Regions from separate parts of the Homo sapiens genome. Here region 2 is linked to region 1. Evidence: promoter capture Hi-C in 16 types of primary human blood cells and fetal thymus (Javierre and others, 2016). All regions are on one chromosome and are shown on one strand. The core of a region is centred on a gene start or on the middle of the fragment in contact, and the rest is flanking DNA. Distances in the headings are between cores, read along the strand shown.

Region 1 (5,427 bases), core at 326-2,825:
TGTCGCCTAGGCTGGAGTGCAGTGGTTCAATCTTGGCTCACTGCAAACTCAGTCTCCTGGGTTCAAGTGATTCTACTGCCTCAGCCTCCTGAGTAGCTGGGATTACAGGCGCGCGCCACCACGCCTGGCTAATTTTTGTATTTTAGTAGAGACAGAGTTTCACCATGTTGGTCAAGCTGGTCTTGAACTCCTGACCTTGTGATCCGCTCGCCTCAGCCTCCCAAAGTGCTGGGATTACAGGTGTGAGCCACCGTGCCCGGCCTCTGTCTGAGGTTTCTTCCAAGGAAGGAAGGATTTTTGTTCAGAGGTGGCTGCCCCTGTCTGACATCTGGTCCAGGAGCCCTTACTCTAGAGACCGTTGAGTTGTTTGTTGGGCTTTGGGTATCTGTGAAGAGGCCCTAAAAACTTTCATCGATTCGTTTACTCATTTAACAATTAATCTCTCTAGGGTGTGGTGGCTCAGCCTGTAATCCCAGCACTTTGGGAGGCCAAGGCGGGTGGATCATCTGAGGGTGGGAGTTCAAGACCAGCCTGACCAACATGGAGAAACCCCACCTCTACTAAAAATACAAAATTAGCTGGGCATGGTGGCACATGCCTGTAATCCCAGCTACTCGGGAGGCTGAGGCAGGAGAATTGCTTGAACCCGGGAGGCGGAGGTTGCCGTGACCCCAGATCTCGCCGTTGCACTCCAGCCTGGGCAACAAGAGTGAAACTCTGTCTCAAAAAAAAGGTAGAAAAATTAGCCAGGGATGGTGGCTCAGGCCTGTGATCCCACCTACTTGGGAGGCTGAGATGGGAGGATCGCTTGAGCCCGGGAGGTCGAGGCTGCAGCAAGCGGTGATCACGCCACTGCACTCCAGCCTGGGCAACTGAAAGCAACCTTGTCTCAAAAAAATGAAAAAAAAAAAACAAAAAACAAAAAAACCTCAGAAGCAAGACTTTCCTTGGCTCAGAGGTTTGCCTCCCAGGGACACAAAGGGAGATCAAGTGATTGCCTTTTGGGGAGAGTGGAGACGGGCTTCCTGCATTTCCAGTGCCTGGGTGGGCCACGTAGGGGTGTCCGTGTCTCTGAACGCATCCGTGCCCACCCTCACCCCTTGGGTTTTGGGAAGGACTAATGAAATCATGAAAACTGACTTCCTTGGGGCTTGACCTGGGGCTGCTCTAAGTGCGCTACAGGTAACGCCATTAACCCGTGCAAGACCCAATGAACAGACGCTATCATAAGCCCCACTTTTCAGGCGAGCAAACAGGGGCTCGTGGCTATCGATGCCATGGAGCCTTGGCCCAGAACCTGGGGTCTAGAAATCGTGGCCTCTCTCTCCTCTCACCGCCCTCTTTCTGGTCGGAGTGAACCCCCCAGAGAAGGGAGGGAGACGGCAGGGCCTGACGGAAGCCCCGGGAGCTGCACAGAGAGGCGGAGGGAGCTGCCCTAATAAGGAGAGGCCCGGACTTGGGCATATCTGCAGAAAAACCCTTCCCCACTAGGCAGGCGCGGGGGAGGGCGTGGAGGGGCGGGGTGGTGCCGCCCCCGGGGCGGGCCCAGTGCGTGGCAGCGGGACCTGCGGCCCCGTCGCGAAGTTTCCAGCCCTGCGAGCGCCGCCGGGTCGGCCGATCGTCCCCCATACCTCGGCCATGCGGCCCCTGCTGCTACTGGCCCTGCTGGGCTGGCTGCTGCTGGCCGAAGCGAAGGGCGACGCCAAGCCGGAGGGTGAGGGAGCGAAGGCCGGGGGCGGGAGCGCGGATCCGGGCGGGAGGGCTGGTGTCGGGCTGCCTCCCTGGGAACGACCTGAATGGGAGGCCTGGGCTGGAGAGGGAGTCTGGGTTCCGGCTCCTTGTCCACTTAATCGCTGGTGACTTGAACAAATCACTTCCCCTCTTGGGGCTGCGGTTCCTGCTTCGGGAAGGAAAGGGTGACAGCTGAGTCCCATTCAGCACAGAAAGGCTCAAATAATAATAGTTTTCATAATAATAACCGACAATGGCTATTCTGCCCAGTGCTCACTATGGGCCAGGCATCAGTTAGGCATGATTGCTACCCTGGTAAGTGTTTCCTTCTATTATCCCCGTTTTCCAGCTGGGCAAACTGAGGCTCCAGAGTTCATTCACTTGCCCAAGATCATACAACTTGTGGGCCTTGGAACCAGGATTTACCCCACCCACCCAGGTGTCTGGTTCCAGAGCCAGGAGGCCTCATGACCATGGGAATGAGGGGTCTTGAGGGGGACAGGGGAGGAATGGGGGTAGAAGGTGTGGCTCACTTTGTGGATAAGTTTGTGCTTTCATCCATGTCCCCTGTGGTCTGCTTAGCCCCTGCCAGGGTGGTCTTCCTCTCTGCAGTTTATTTTTTTTATTTTACTTAATGTATTATTTATTTAGTTATTTATTTATTTTTGAGACAGAGTCTTGCTCTGTCGCCCAGGCTGGAACGCAGTATGCGATCTCGGCTTACTGCAACCTCTGCCTCCCAGGTAAAAGCAATTCTTTTTTTTTTTTTTGAGATGGAGTCTCGCTCTGTCGCCCAGGCTGGAATGCAGTGGCACAATCTCAGCTCACTGCAACCTCCACCTCCCAGGTTCAAGTGTTTCTCCTGCCTCGGCCTCCCAAGTAGCTGGGATTACAGGCACGTGCCACCATGCCTAGCTAATTTTTGTATTTTTAGTTGAGATGGGGTTTCACCATGCTGGCCAGGCTGGTCTTGAACTTCTGACCTCTTGATCCGCTGGCCTCAGCCTCCCAAAATGTTTGGATTACAGGCGTGAGCCATCGCGCCCGGCCGGTTCAAGCGACTCCTGTACCTCAGCCTCCCAGGTAGGTGGGATCACAGACATGTGCCACCATGCCCAGCTAATTTTTGTATTTTTGGTGGAGATGGGGTTTCACCATGTTGGCCAGGCTGGTCTTGAACTCTTGACCTCAGGTGATCAGCCCACCTTGGTCTCCCAAAGTGTTGGGATTACAGGCGTGAGCCACCACACCTGGCCCTCTCTGCAGTTTATACTTGAGGAAACTGAGGCCCAGACAGGTGAAGTGACTGTCCAGGGTGGTCCAGACAGAGGTGGTTGGTCCGAGGTCAGCTGGGCTCCAGTCTAGCGCTCTTTCTACTTCCTCAAGGCAGATTGGATTGCAGTGTGTGCCCCACTGTCCTGAGTGGGTGCTTCCCTCCTCCCCAGCCCTCCCTGGCATGGGCCATCTCCAGGGCTGTCCCGAGAAGGGCATAGACTGCGGACAGTCCCAGCAAAGCCAAGCAGAAGTGGCGGTACTTTCCATGGCATTCTCCTCCTTCAGCTTACCCTCCTGGAGAACCTGAAACTGTATCACCAGAAGGATCCCGGGTTCTTTGGGTCAGGAATGGGAACCACCATTTATTTTATTTTATTTATTTAATTTTTTTTTGAGACAGTGTTTCACTGTGTCCCCCAGGCTGGAGTGCAGTAGCATGACCTTGGCTCACTGCAACCTCTGTCTCCTGGGTTCAAGCAATTCTCGTGCGTCAGCCTCCCAAGTAGCTGGGATTACAGGCCTGCACCACCACGCCCAGCTAATTTTTGTATCTTTAGAAGAGACGAGGTTTCGCCATGTTGGCCAGGCTGGTTTCAAACTCCTGACCTCAAGTGATCCTCCTGCCTCGGCCTCCCAAAGTGCTGGGATTACAGGTGGGAGCCACTGCACCCAGCCAGGAACCACCATTTCTTTTCTTTTCTTTCTTTTTTTTTTTTTGAGGCAGAGTTTCACTCCCGTTGCCCAGGCTGGAGTCCAATGGTGCGATCTCAGCTCACTGCAACCTCCGCCTCCCAGGTTCAAGCGATTCTCCTGCCTCAATCTCCCTAGTGGCTGGGATTACAGGCGGATGCCACAACGCTCAGCTAATGTTTGTATTTTTAGTAGAGACGGGGTTTCACCATGTTGGTCAGGCTGGTTTCAAACTCTTGATCTCAGGTGATCCGCCTACCTCGGCCTCCCAAAGTACCGGGATTACAGGCGTGAGCCACCGCGCCCGGCCAGGAACTGCCATTTCTTGAGTACCTCCCTCGGACCAGGTTGTGCCCAAGGCCCCACGTCTCCCAGTGGTAAAGCCGGCGGTGCTTGCTCTCTGTGAGGCTTGGTGTTCTAGCCTGCAAGACCCGGTGATACTACCTCACGCCTGGAGCTCTAACAAGAATTCCAGGGGATGAAGTTGGGGAGAGTTCAGCTCAATGCCTGGCCCATGAAAGGCCCTCGGCAAAGGGCATTTTCTCTCCCAGTCCCAGGGCTGCTGGCTTACAGCAGGGCAGTAAGACAGCTCAGAAAGTCCAGTGATGGAAACGCTGACCACCGGGCTGTGCAAAGGGCTCTCGGCCTGGGTCCCCTCACTGGCCAGGAGCCCTGTTGTGGCCTAGTTTTCTGGGCCTTTGATCCCCCTGCTTCTGCTGACATGGGGTGCCTGCATCCCAGACCATCCCAGGAGAGAAACCGCAGCTGCCCATGATGAAGCCCGGTGAGTTGAATTGAAGAGGGACCAGACTGATGACAGGGCGTTAGGCACCCTGATCCCCAGCAAGTGACAGGAGGAGGGCAGAGCAGATCCAAGGAAGCCTTCACAGAGGGTGCTGCTATGGGCGGAGGACAGGATCAGTGTGCTACTGAGGTAACCCAGGTAGAGCACCTGGTAGGTAGAAAGCACATCTGTGCTCACTGATGCACAAGAGAGCAGATCCCCAGGCCTGGGGCTAATGTCAGGCCAGTCTGAGTTGGGCCCTTTGCTTCCCTTCTCCATTTGGATCCCTCCCTGTTTTCCATTTTTTTTTTTTTTTTTAAGTTTTCATTTTCTTTTTTTTTTTTTCTTTGAGACAGAGTCTCGCTTTGTCGCCCAGGCTGGAGTGCAGTGGCACGATCTCAGCGCACTGCAGCCTCCACCTCCAGGGTTCAAGCGATTCTCCTGTCTCAGCCTCCCAAGTAGCTGGGATCACAGGCATGCACCACCATGCCTGGCTAATTTTTGTATTTTTAGTAGAGACGGGGTTTTGCAATGTTAGCCAGGCTGGTCTCAATCCTGACCTCAAGCGATTTGCCCACCTTGGCTTCCCAAAGTGCTGGGATTACAGGCCTGAGCCACCACGCCCGGCCAGGATCCCTTTGCTAAGTAAGAAATCATCAACTCCATTTTGGAGATGGGAAGACTGAGGTCCTGGTAGGTTAAACATCTGGTCTCTCATTGCCAGAGCTGGTTGGAGGTGGGGTCATTGTCTGGAACTCAGACCTACTGTTCATTTCTGCACCTCTGGACGGGAAGGGGGTGCTGTTGCCTGGAAATGCTGCCTGGGGGAGCCTGCTCAGCTCCCCCAGACCCAGCTGAGGTGTGACCTTTAGCCAGCTGGACAGGAGGACAGAGTGGGTTGCTCATCTTCCCTGCAGGTCTTGCCTGAGCATCCCACTGACTAGTGT
Region 2 (4,601 bases), core at 1-2,500, 140 kb before region 1:
GGGATCTCTGGGCCACTGCCCTCACCTGGGGTCCTCAGTCCACATCCCCAGGCGCTTCAGCACCTCTGTGGTAGCCATCTCGCGGTTGAGGGTGTAGAAGTGGAGGCCTGGCACCAAGCCACTGGCCAGAAGCTCCTGGCACAGGCTCACGGCCAGCTCGATGCCATAGTTGCGGATGGCAGCATCGTTGTCTTTGATTGGCTCAATCACGTCCTTGATCTCCTGTGGCACCTCCAGCTTGGACAGCTTCACAAGCTGCCGAAGGGAGTGGTAGCCCTGTCCAAGACATGAGGGGCTGTGGCGGCTGCTGGCCAGCCCGTCTCCCACCCTAAATACTTCTCCCCCTTCCATCATCCATGCCAACCACAGTGTCAGGCAGAGGGACCCACGAAAGTCCGATCATATTCTAGGAGCACACCTGGGCTTGGCCTGCCGTTTTCTCCTCTTTTTTCTGTTTTTAGAGACTGAGTCTCACTGCTCTCAAACGCCAGGGCTCAAGCCATCCTCCTGCCTCAGCTTCTCAAGTAGCCGGGACTACAGGCACGTGCCACTATGCCCAGCTTTCCCACTTTTTACAGAGTAGAGCAGCTGCCCTAAGCATTCCAGCCTTGGGTTGAGCCAGCCTTTTAGCCCTAGATGTGTCTGTTGGTAACATGGTGTCATCTAACCCAGCTGTTCCCATGCTGCACTGATCATCCGAATCACCTGCCAAGCTCAAGAAGTAAAACACACATTCCGAGGACCTCCCTCAGATTTACTGAGTGAGAACCTCCAGGGGTGGGACCTGGAGATCCACTTTTTGAAAAAGCTTATCAAGTGGTTCTGATGACAGCCACCTTTGGGAAACACTGATTTAAGCAGGATTTGTAATGAGAATTAGAATCCCTTTTGGTGATGCTTGTTGGCCAAAGTACAACAAACCCCTCAACAGACACTGTTGCTGGGTTTTGGGGGGAAAATTAGAGGTAACCAAAATGGGGTGGCCAAGCAACGCTGTGCAAGTTCTGGACCTGAGAGGAGATCTGGGAAGAACTCAGCGAACTCAGCACTCCACCCAGAGCCCCCAGCCTGTGCGAGGACGGTGCGGTGAGAGTGGGGTGGAGGGAGCTTATGGGCTCTCCTGGGCCCCTCACCTGGATGGGAAAGATCCCGGGGACGATGGGGCAAGTGATGCCCATGTCGGTGCATGCCTTCACAAAGCGGAAGAATGTGTCAGCCTCAAAGAAAAGCTGCGTGATGATGAAATCGGCTCCCGCAGACACCTTCTCCTTCAAGTGCTTCAGGTCAGCCTCAAAGCTCCCTGCTTCGGGGTGGCCTTTGGGGTAACCTGCCAATAGGGATGACAGTCAGGAGAGGCTGGCCTCCACCTGTTCAAGGCGAGGGATGAAGAGACCACAGGGACTGGGCAGAGAGAGTCCTCTGCTTTGGGGGCTCTGATCTTGCACCTTCCAACAGCACAGCACAGCCTGAACTAAAACAGTGAGTGGCTGGGCTCATGACTGATATGCTTCTGACCCCAGAGATGACTCTCAGGGGAGGTGGCTCAGAGCCCAGTTCCAAGAGTGGGGGTGGATTGCTCCAAACTCCCACACTGTCCTGCCTTGAGCAGCCAAGCAAATCAGGCCTGCACTTGGTGGCCATAGAAAAGAGAAAATGCTACAGTTAGCACTGGCTGGGCAGCATCTGGGGTAGTAAGCTTGACTTTTCTCTAGGCACCGGATTAAACATTGTTTTTAATGTAACACTGAAATTACTCAGGGGTCCAAGATAGTGAAAAGCTAAAAACCAAGTTACACAAGGAAGAACTGAAGAAAGTGATGTTTTCTTCAAAGAAAATAATGGATGGCAGGGTGCGGTGGCTCATGTCTGTAATCCCAGCACTTTGGGAGGCCAAGGCAGGAGGATGACCTGAGGTCAGGAGTTCGAGACCAGCCTGGCCAACATGGTAAAACCCCGTCTCTACCAAAAATACAAAAATTAGCCAGGTGTGGTGGTGTATGCCTGTAATAGCTACTCAGGAGGCTGAGTCAGGAAAATTGCTTGAACCCACGAGACAGAGGTTGCAGTGAGCCGAGATCGTACCATTGCACTCTAGCCTGGGCAACGAGAGCGAAACTCCGTCTCAAAAAAAAAAAAAAAAAAAAGAATGAAAAGAATACAGAAACTCCTTTCAAATGTCCAAAGGTCTGTCCTGGGGAAAAAGGATCCACCATAGGTGAGTTTGTTTTGTTTTGTTTCAGAGACAGGGTCTTGCTCTGTCACCCAGGCTAGAGTGCAGTGATACAATCATGGCTCACTGTAGCCTTGAACTCCCGGGCACAAGTGATCTCCCACTTCAGTCTCCTGAGTAGCTTGGACTACAGATGCAAGCCACCACATCTGGCTAATTAAAAAAAATTTTTTTAATTAATTATTTATTTTTTAGAGATGGGGTCTTGCTATCTTGTCCAGGTTTGTCTGGAACTTCTGGGCTCAAGCAATCCTCCCACCTTGGCCTCCCAAAGTGCTGAGATTACAGGCATGAGCCACTGTACCCAGCCCCCTAGTGAAGTTCTTTATTAGTCATATTCTGTGTTGTTTCTAATGGCAGAACCAGCATCCGGTTCAGAGAGCTGGCTAGAGTACTATAAGCCACTCACAAAACAATGAGCTCCTGGAGTCTGAAAACACAGGGGCAGTGGATGCTGAAGACAAGATTCCAGAATTGCTTAGGAGGTGGGATCAGATGTCCCATAGGCTCCTTACTGGCTCTGTGAACTCTCTGACCCCTTTCCTCAATGACTAAACTTACTAGCCGCCTTGCTCGGTCAGGCAAGCAGGATGACCATAGGCCTTCATGAAACTACATGGAGTGCTGGTTTCATCAGCCCAAGCCCAGGGCAGGACTCTGAGCCAGGCGGAAGGCCAAGCTGCTTTGCTCTGATAAGGCAGTTCCGTTCTTAAGAAACCCAGAGTCATCAAAAAATGAATATAAAAACTATTGTTTCAAGGGGTAAGGGAGTGGGGGATAAAGCAATGGGGCTTCACACTTGCAATAACAAAGCTATTTTCCCAGTAGGAATTTCAGAAACAACAAGGCTTTTTAATAGCTGAAAAGTATAGCTACAATACCTAAATATCACCGAACAAATCTAGCATTTGATTACGTATAGATTTTGCTATTTACTCTATTTTTCTATCATGAACAGCTGAGGGCTTTCTTTTTTAAAATGTTTTTATTTTTTGTAGAGACACGGTCTCACTGTGTTGCCCAGGCTGGTCTTGATCTCCTGCCTCAGTCTCCCAAAGCTCTGGGATTACAGGCATGAGCTACCATGCCCAACAGGTTGGTGTTTTCTAATCCACTCATCTTCATTACCCACTTGATAAGCAAAGTAAGAAACCATTCAGCAACTGTGAGCTCACAGCTTCACTAGTTTCCAATCATTATCACCTAACGCCCATCACGGGTGCATATTCCCCCAGTAACTGACTATATAATGGCTGATACAAGCGATGACAATTTAACAGTTGGAAATGTCTGTTCTCTGACTCCTAATCAGTGCTTCCCAGACTTAGCACCTAAACACCCCTGTTGACAGAATGGACATGTCCATCGGGGGTTAGGGACAAGGCCAAAGTTACTCACAACATGTAATTTTCTTGAAGCCACGTGGTTTGTTTTTTGGGTTTTTTGTTTTGTTTTTTTTGAGACGGAGTCTGGCTCTGTTGCCCAGGCTACAGTGCATTGGTGCGATCTCGGCTCACTGCAAGCTCCGCCTCCTGGGTTCAAGCGATTCTCCTGCCTCAGCCTACCAAGTAGCTGGGACTACAGGCACGCGCCACCATGCCCGGCTAATTTTTGTATTTTTAGTAGAGACGGGGTTTCACTATGTTGGACAGGATGGTCTCAAACTCCTGATCTCATGATCCACCCGCCTTGGCCTCCCAAAGTGCTGGGATTATAGGCTTCAGCCACCGCACCTGGCCTTTTTTTTTTAGTTCATATCACTTTAGATGCTACTCCATAACATAGCCATGTTTAATATAAAAATGGTAGGATTTCTCCCAGAATATTGGCAAAAAAACTGTCATCCCAGAAAATGTGCCAATCCCGGGACTTCCTGTCCCTGGTGCACACTGTCTTGCCATACCTGAGCGCTGTCTGAGACGCTGAGGGCTCAATGCCAGCCTTCAGCTTCAAGGGTGGGAGAGAAGTCCAACCCACCCATTTCTGTTGGGGGAACCTGGTCTTGTGGCTGTGGCCAATGGTGATTCTCTTTCCTGGGAATTTGGAACGGAGGCCTGTCCATTAGCCTGGGGAACTGGCTGGAACTGACACTCTGCACACTCAGGAGCAGGCCAGGTGTGTGGAAAAGCATGGGTATCAGGTCTCCCAGATGAAGCACAGATGTGCAGTGGGAAGCGGAGATGGGGGACCCTGTGGCCCCAGAGGGAATGAGGGAGGGCCTTGCTTTTTGACCTCTTCCAGTGCCTTGTGAGGTCTGAGGCCATCTCCTGATCTTGGGTTCCCTGCCCTCTGGAATCCTGTTAGTAAATATCCCTCTTTTGTGGGGTGTTGTTTTTTTTTTTTTTTTGAGATGGAGTCTTGCTCTGCCACT

The links. The method cuts DNA at HindIII sites, captures the fragments that hold promoters and counts their contacts. A CHiCAGO score of 5 or more calls a contact.
Region 2: a contact is called between a fragment that was not itself captured here and the fragment with the promoter of PLOD1 in region 1, in 1 of 17 cell types (neutrophils). The highest score is 5.3, in neutrophils.

The regions. Positions count from the first base shown.
Region 1 is chr1:11,933,142-11,938,568 of GRCh38, forward strand. PLOD1 (procollagen-lysine,2-oxoglutarate 5-dioxygenase 1) reads left to right here and starts at 1,576. Exons shown (of 19, transcript NM_000302.4): 1 at 1,576-1,714. The coding sequence starts at 1,639. RefSeq lists enhancers at 359-1,284, 1,115-1,164, 1,285-2,208 and a silencer at 1,385-1,854. The HindIII fragment of the contact is 16,832 bases long and covers 1-5,427 here.
Region 2 is chr1:11,795,073-11,799,673 of GRCh38, forward strand. MTHFR (methylenetetrahydrofolate reductase) reads right to left here. Exons shown (of 12, transcript NM_005957.5): 5 at 1,134-1,327; 6 at 26-276. Among named protein-coding and RNA genes, the nearest start is that of MTHFR, 8.6 kb to the right of the region's middle. The HindIII fragment of the contact is 888 bases long and covers 807-1,694 here.